3 separate regions of the Homo sapiens genome follow, and regions 2 and 3 are each linked to region 1. The links are contacts of gene promoters, found by promoter capture Hi-C in human tissues and cell types (Jung and others, 2019). All regions are on one chromosome and are shown on one strand. Each heading gives the region's core, a stretch centred on a gene start or on the middle of the fragment in contact. The rest is flanking DNA. Distances are from core to core; before and after follow the strand shown. Region 1 holds the start of APOBEC2 (apolipoprotein B mRNA editing enzyme catalytic subunit 2). Region 2 overlaps LRFN2 (leucine rich repeat and fibronectin type III domain containing 2). Region 3 has its middle 100 kb from the start of LRFN2.

The links. The method cuts DNA at HindIII sites, captures the fragments that hold promoters and counts their contacts. A contact is called where the count stands out against the background at its distance.
Region 2: a contact is called between a fragment that was not itself captured here and the fragment with the promoter of APOBEC2 in region 1, in 1 of the 25 tissues and cell types used here (thymus).
Region 3: a contact is called between a fragment that was not itself captured here and the fragment with the promoter of APOBEC2 in region 1, in 1 of the 25 tissues and cell types used here (lymphoblastoid cells).

What each region holds. Positions count from the first base shown.
Region 1 is chr6:41,051,934-41,054,474 of GRCh38, forward strand. It overlaps APOBEC2 (apolipoprotein B mRNA editing enzyme catalytic subunit 2), which reads left to right and starts at 1,269. Exons shown (of 3, transcript NM_006789.4): 1 at 1,269-1,545. The coding sequence starts at 1,415. The HindIII fragment of the contact is 7,265 bases long and covers 1-2,207 here.
Region 2 is chr6:40,545,421-40,547,961 of GRCh38, forward strand. The region is part of intron 1 of LRFN2 (leucine rich repeat and fibronectin type III domain containing 2); the gene reads right to left. Among named protein-coding and RNA genes, the nearest start is that of LRFN2, 41 kb to the right of the region's middle. The HindIII fragment of the contact is 3,923 bases long and covers 1-2,541 here.
Region 3 is chr6:40,689,975-40,692,515 of GRCh38, forward strand. No RefSeq gene overlaps it. Among named protein-coding and RNA genes, the nearest start is that of LRFN2, 100 kb to the left of the region's middle. The HindIII fragment of the contact is 4,010 bases long and covers 1-2,541 here.

The DNA of each region.
Region 1 (2,541 bases), core at 19-2,518:
TTTACCCTTGTTATCTCTCTGGCTTAATCTCTTAGAACTCTTCAGTCACCCAGATGTATGTCCTCGCTAGTTCCTCAAACACCCCAGGAATGCTCCCTTCTCAGAGCCTTTGCTCACGTTGTTCCCTTCCTTGGAACGCTTTCCTCTTAGACAACCAAATGATTAGTTCCCTTGCCTTCTTCACGTCTTCTTCAATTGTCTCCTTTTCAAAGTCCTTCACCCTGGCCATCCTATAAGTACGTAACCCCACCTCTTAGCACTTCCTGTTTCCATTTCCTGTCTTTTCTCCTTGGCACTTGTCATCACAAAATAGACCATGTATTTTACTTACCTTATTTGTTGTTCAGTTCCTCAAGCTCCACAAATCATCACAGCAGGGATTTTCATTTGCTTTGTTCTTTTGCCATATTCCCAGTACCTGAAACAGCACCTGGCATAGAGTAGATACTCAATAAATATTTGTTAAGAAGAATAAAAGACTGACTGTGAGGGCACATAGCATGGAGGTTGAATATTTGGCCTGAAGTACAAAAGCCTGCATTTTAATCCCGGCTCTGCACACTTCTGTGACTCAGTTTACCTGTAACTTGGGATAATACACATCGCCTCCCATGGCTGTGGCAAGCATGCATCTGATTTCATTTAAACCCCTAAACCCACTGCCTGGCCTGTTTCAAAATCTCTGAGCTAAGTAAATGGCAGCTATTGTTACTCAGGGAGGCTCCTGATCGATTTGACATTACATTATGGCTTTGTAACAGGCAAATCAGCACCCACCGCTTTTGAGTCATAACTCACACACTTACTCCCCAAATTGTCAGTTTTGATCCCACCTCTGCCAGGACCCCTCCTTTCCTGAACCCACGTTCCCCCAAAGCAAATGGCCTGGGTCTTTTTGCAGTCAGCCCCTTTCAACACACATCTCCTCCTGTTTAAATCTCAGAAGGCCACCCTCCTAAATCTCAGGATGCCTGCCCTGGGGCCCCTTCCACACTCTCCCCCAGTGGAGCTAGGGAATTTGGGTGGGAAACAAAGGGGAGAACATAAGGTGAGCTGAGAGGGAGAGGGAGAAGAGAGCAGGCCAAGCCATACCCACCTGCCAGGTTCCTGTCTTTGCCTACTGATAAATAGGGGATACTAATGGCCAGATTTTCCATTCCCCCACCCCAGCACCCGCTGTCACTCAATTAAAAAAAGATAGAGGGAGAGAGCCTGGGGGAGGGGCAGGAGGCCTTGGCTATAAAGCCTGTGGCTAAGTGGGGAAAGCACGAAGCCTGGCCTGCTGGGTCCTTTTCCCGTCATCCCCAGCCAGATTTAGCTGCTGACAGCTGCTTGGGACTCTGCCGCCAGGGCCTGGCCCAGACCTGCCTGCCTCTCTCCTCTCCCTCAGTGACTCCTGAGCCACAGCCCCTCCATGGCCCAGAAGGAAGAGGCTGCTGTGGCCACTGAGGCTGCCTCCCAGAATGGGGAGGATCTGGAGAACCTGGACGACCCTGAGAAGCTGAAAGAGCTGATTGAGCTGCCGCCCTTTGAGATTGTCACAGGGTAAGCCTCAGATGTGGGTCAGGGTTCTGCTCCCTAGAAGAGTGCAGCCTTGGGTTAGGCTGTGGAAATTCAGGATGGTTATATTAGGCGTCAGGGACAGCTACAACCCTGCAGCAGTGAGAGTGCACCAGTGGGCCCGGCAGGGGTGGTAGGGGACCCAGCAGCAAATTCTCTTGGCTTCTCAGGGTGACACCTTGGGCTCTCTAATCAGGGAGAGGTAGGAGGAGCTCCTTGGAGGCAAAAGCCCAGAGAATAAAACCACCCTTCAGGCCTCCTGGTATTGGGATGGCCACCTGCCTCTCTGGGTAGAAGCTTAGTCCCAGGGAGTTTGGCGAGGACAGAGGATGAGACTGGCACATCTATATGTGGCTCCGTTCAAAGCAACCCTTCCCCTCAACTTCTCTGTTCCTGAGTGGGTCTCTCCGCTAGCCATAGGCCTCTAGCCCTTTCTTTAGAGCTTCTTCCTGGAGTAGATGCTCCCAAGACAGGAAAGATAGATCCATCCTTTCCCAAGACTCAGAAGCAGCTTTTTTCTTATTAAATCTTTTGAGTCTCCTCAGGGGCTGTCCCACAGAGAAACAGAGAAATTACATGCAGATAACGCAGCCCAGGAGCTTATGGACACAGGAGCTGTTCCAACATGCTCAGGCATTGCCTGGAGGAACTGGGACCCAAAGAAAAGGGTCTACAGACTGCAAGGAGGGGGCTGTGTGCAGGGTACCTCTGTCTTATCCAGATTATGCCATCTCCAGGAATAAAACTAAGTAGTCTTCTTCCTCTTCCCTTTCTATTCCTGTAGTGGAAGACCCTTCTAAATCCTGAGCAAAGAATAAAAAGAGAATCTATGAGGCCATATTTCCTCCTTGAACCAAACGTTCCCTTCATGGGGTCTCCAGGAATGACCACAGGCAGAGTGGGTGCGAGACTAAGAGAAGTTTCAGGAAGAAAGGAGGCATGATGCTTTCAAGGGGGAAAGGAAGCCCTGAGTGGCAATTT
Region 2 (2,541 bases), core at 20-2,519, 510 kb before region 1:
CTGGGCAGCACCAACGATGGGTCATTGAAAACAAACTGACTGAGTGATTTGTATTCCCCTCTCTCTCATGTTTAAGCACTGGGCCAACCCCTGGAGCATGTTAAGTGGGTTACTGCCTGCAGTGGAGTGGTGGAGGGGAGAGGCAGAGACACACAGCCATGGCCCCAGGCAGAGGAAGAGGAAGAGGGGAGGTCAGGAAGGTTGGGGAGAGATGAAGAGAGAGGGGAGAGGATAATGGGAAAGTGGAAGAGAGGAAAGTGGGACAGGGAAAGAGAGAAGTAAGGGAGCAGAGAAAGAGGAAAAGCAGGGGAAAAGGATGAGGCAGAGGCACTTGGAGGAGGAATGAAGCCAGGGCCTGGGTCTCATGAGATGAAAAGGTCAACCACGGCCCCTCTAAAGAAGGCTGCCAACATCCTTTGGCCCATGAGTAGAGAAGTATTTTAAAATATAAGCTTAATGAGGGCAGGGACTTTTTAAAAATTGTTTCTTTTTCTTTTGGTGTTGTATCTTCAGCTCCTAGAATCATGCCTGCCCAGGAATTTAATAGCTATTTGTTGAATGATAATATTTTAGCGCTGGCAGTCAACTAACCACATTTTAGACAAGTAGCTTCTGTGGGCTCCATCCTGCACTCTTGACAATGGGGAGACTCCAGAGAGAGGGACCAGGCTGCCTGGCTGTTTTTGAGGATCACAGCTTGGCTGGGCAAAACGGGCTGAGAGAGGGGAGGTAAAGGGAATTTGCATGACAACGCACAGTCAGCGGGTGATTGGCTGGCTCTGGCTACAGGCAGCACAGGAGGAACAGCCCAGAGAAGCGGGGCCTTGAATGCAGCTGAGGATGCAGCTCTGATGTGCCCACTTGGTCTTAAAGGTCTGGCATGTTCCAAAAGTTTGCACAAAACTTTCCCGTTGTAACCTAAGGGCTCATTCTTCCTTGGGAAGAAGGTGCATTATTCATCTCAGTGACCTGCCGATATTGACCCCAGGTCTCCCCATAGCTTCTTAAACCACCTGATTCAGGTTTATTAGGGGCAAAGGTGAGTAGCTGGGCTCAAGTCCTAAACTACCTCCTGGCCAACACTGGTGGGAAGTCCAGGAAGCCTCTCATGATATGTCCTCATTGGCTTAACCAACTCTCATGAATCAGATGAGATAATAAGGTGAGATTCACTGACTTTGGAGTCCAGCTGGATTCAAATCCCAGCTCTATAGCTTCCAAGCCTTGTGATCTTGGACCACTTTGTGAATAGCAAGAGCTTAAGTTTACTGAGTATTGACTCTTCCAGGAACTGTTCTCAGTGTTGTGTATATGGGTTCACTACCCTATGTGGCAGGAACTAGATTTATCTAATTTCTCAGATGAGGAAACTGAGACACAGAAAGGTATAATAACAGGCCTAGAGGCAAGGAGTGAGTATGCGATAGAGTCAAGTTTGAGCTCAAGCAATCAACCTCAAAGCCCTGGTCTTAACTTCTGCACTATTTTTACCCTTCTGAGTCTCAGTTTCTTCATTTGTCAAATGAGACAAAATAGGACCTTCTTCCTAGTATTACTGAGAGAATTTGAAATACAGTAATATATAAAGTACTTGATAAAGTGGGGATTCAAGAAACTGCAGCTATCATATTTTACGGATGTAAGAGTATATTTCTGTTGTAAAAAAAATGGCAATAATGCAAATCTTTTTTTTTTTTTTTTGAGATAGAGTTTTGCTCTTGTCACCCAGGCTAGAGTGCAGTGGCACGATCTCGGCTTACTGCAACCTCTGCTTCCTGGGTTCAAGCAATTCTCCTGTCTCAGCCTCCCGAGTAGCTGGGACTACAGGTGCATGCCACCACACCTGGCTAATTTTTGTATTTTTAGTAGAGACAGAGTTTCACCATGTTGGCCAGGCCGGTCTCGAACTCCTGACCTCAGGTGATCTGCCCACCTTAGCCTCCCAAAGTGCTGGGATTATAGGTGTGAGCCATCGCGCCTGGCCACAAACCTTAATTAAATGTCAGTTAGTGGCCCAAAACCATGGTGACACTCCTGCTTCCTAACACCTGCTCTATTACACCATTTAGTGTATGCGCCCTAGTTCCCCTATACTGGGCATCTTCCATTTGACCCTCCAGGTCCACAGTACACCCTTCTTCACCCTGGTCATTGTCCAGGAGGCTGGTCAGTGCAGCCCCCACCAGTGGGCATCATGCCCTCTGCCTCCTGAATAGGGGAGGTCAACTGGGAAGATCAACAGAAGATGGGAGGGAGAAAGGAGAGTGAGTTTGGGCTATTTATCCTCCTACCCCCAGCTTCCTCATCACGAGTCTGGCCCGCAAGCAAAGGTGACATACCTGGTGAGACACCTTTTTGATACTGCTCACATATTCTCTGGGGTCCAGGAACTACTGCCTCCCTTCTCCCTCCAAGTTTAGGGGAGGTAACAGCCTCCCAGTGTTACCAGCCCCAGGGTATTTCACTAACCCTGTGGTTTCTCTATGCCATCCCCACACCTTTGTAAATAGTTTCTTTTAATATAACTCATTTGAATGTGTC
Region 3 (2,541 bases), core at 22-2,521, 360 kb before region 1:
TACGGGGTAAACCATCCAAAGGTCTCTGCCCACACAGGCTTCCAACTTCCATGGCATATCTCCTGGGTAGGGGCCTCAGCCAGGGCTGCTGACCAGAAGAGAAAGAGAGTTACAAGGCACAAGGATCTACACAAAGCTGCCTGACAGAATTCTAGCTGGGGCTTTGGCTGTGGTTCCCACATGGAGCTTCCTCCTGGCATCATGTGGTGTGAATCTGGAGACAGCTTCATGAGAAGTAAGGCCTTTGCACCATTTCCCCTTCCCAGTGTTCTGAGCCCCTAGTTGCTTCCCTGCAACCCAGCTTTGCTGGAGTGAGGTGAGAATGAGAAGAAAAGAAGACACTTGGCTTTGTTCCCAAGTATGGGCTGGGTGGAAGGGTTATGTCTAGTTTGGCAGCCTAGCATGGGAGGGTGCCCGGTGGAGGGTGGGAAGCATAGGCAATGAACCAGGACAACTGCTGTGGTCTGAGTCGCTATTTTCCCTCTCTCCTTCCTAAGCCCACACATCACATTTCAATCATCTCAGAGGATCTGTGCAGCAGCAGGAGATGGGCTGCAGGGATGCAGAGCATCCAGCCACGGCCTCCCCGGTGCCATAAGCTGATTAGAAATAAACATGGGGGCAATACACAGCAGTGGCTTTCTCACCTTATGCAGCAGAATCTGTTTCTAGGTCCAGGCTAAAAGCCAGCAGGCAAGAGAGAAGGGCACTGAGACACTTAGGCAAAGGCTGAGGGGCCGGGCACCTTGGGGCATTTTGTCATCCCTCTGTCTCCAAGAAAAACTTCAAAGATTCCAGTGTGGCCACTCTTTTGACTCCATTTGGATAATGAGACACCCTAAACAGTAAAGTGCAGGTCATCACATATCTCAATAAAATAAGAGGATTAAATGGAAAAGGAATCTGGATTGGTGCAAGGGTTGGAAGAAACCTCTCCCCTGTGCCAGCCAGAAATCTGTCTTGGAGTTCCGGATCTTTACACGATATGATGAGGAAAGGCTAGGACAGAGGGAGCTCTCAACCGTGTGGGTTGGGGATGGGTGGGATGAGGGGAACACAAGGTCAGTGCTGCTGGGGATATAATAACAACCAACACTTACCGTTACTGAGAAGTCCTAGGCACCAGGCCCTAAGCTAGGCACTTTTATTCATTATGACGTTAAATCCTTATAATAAGCCTCTGAAGTAGCTACTATTGTCCTCGTATTACAAAAGAGGGGAACCAAGGCTCAGAGAGACTTGGTAGGCTCACACGGCTAGGTGTGAGTTGCCCAGTCAGACCTGGAAACCAAGCTTCCAAAACCCATCACTCTTGAAGTGACATCTATGCCCTGTCCCCCAGTGCAGAGCCATCACCACGGTGCTGCTCCCGGGTGAGGCTAGGGCCACAGCTCACCAATGGCAGGCGGAGGGGTGGCTCTAAAGTGGATAACGTTGGGTGGGGGGACCCCATGGCTCTGGTTCCATCTGCCTAGAGGCCTTTGCTTAAGGCAGCTGGAAGCCCAATCATCTCACCTCATGCTTCTAACACGTTTCTGGTTATTAACAGGGACAGCGGTCCAGTTTCCCCTCTGTCCCTGAAGTTTCACAGTGTCTAAATGCCTGCACACAGCCACTGCCTTAGCTCAAACCCTGGCCATCTTTCATGTGGCCCCTCTGAGCAGCCTCCTGCCCCATAATTCTTCCCAAGGCAAAGCTCATCATGTCACCTCTCTTAAACTCTTTCAGGACCACTTTTTCCTGGGGAGTAAAGTTCAGATTGCTTAATTTGACTTTCCCAAGCTGGCCCCAACCTGCCTCCCAGGGTCCTGTCTCTCCCACATTCTCTGCACTCCAGAGACCTCAGAGGCCTGGCTGTTATACTGGGTGTGCCTTGCATTGCCATACTTCCTCGCCTATGCTGTTGCTCCAGCTTTCCTTCTCCTGATTATTCCCCTTGGCAAAATGTCACCTTTCCTGCCCAATTCAAATGTCATATGCCTTATGAAGCTTCTCCTCTGTGGCAACTCCTCCCCTGAAGACTCCTTCTGAGTTTGTGATGAAGATGAGGATAATGATAAAAGTAGTAAGAGCTAACACTGAGGAATGCTCACTCTGTGCCAGGCACTTTTCAAGTATTACCTTGTTTAATTCTCATAACAACCCGAGGAGATGAGTGCCATCATTATCTTCATTTCATAGATAGAAAATGGAGGCCCAGAGAGGTTAAGTGACTTGCCCATAGTCATGCAGCTCATAAATGGAGAGGAACAAGGATTCAACCACAGCCATGCAGTTCCAGAGCCTGTGCCCTTAAGCAATCCCCAAGGCTCCTCCACACAAAGAACACCCATGGGGTGCAGATCCAAAGGTTCCTTTACAGAAGCATTGCTCACCTTATTTGAGAGGCCATGAGTCCCCTGTCTCCCCTGATCATCTGTGAGCTCCTTGAGGGCGAGGTCTGTCTTAGGAATCTGTCTTTTGTCTAGCACAACACCAAGGACAACAATGAGCAAGGCCTTTGCAGGAGAGAACAAATGAATGACATGTAATGATAATTAT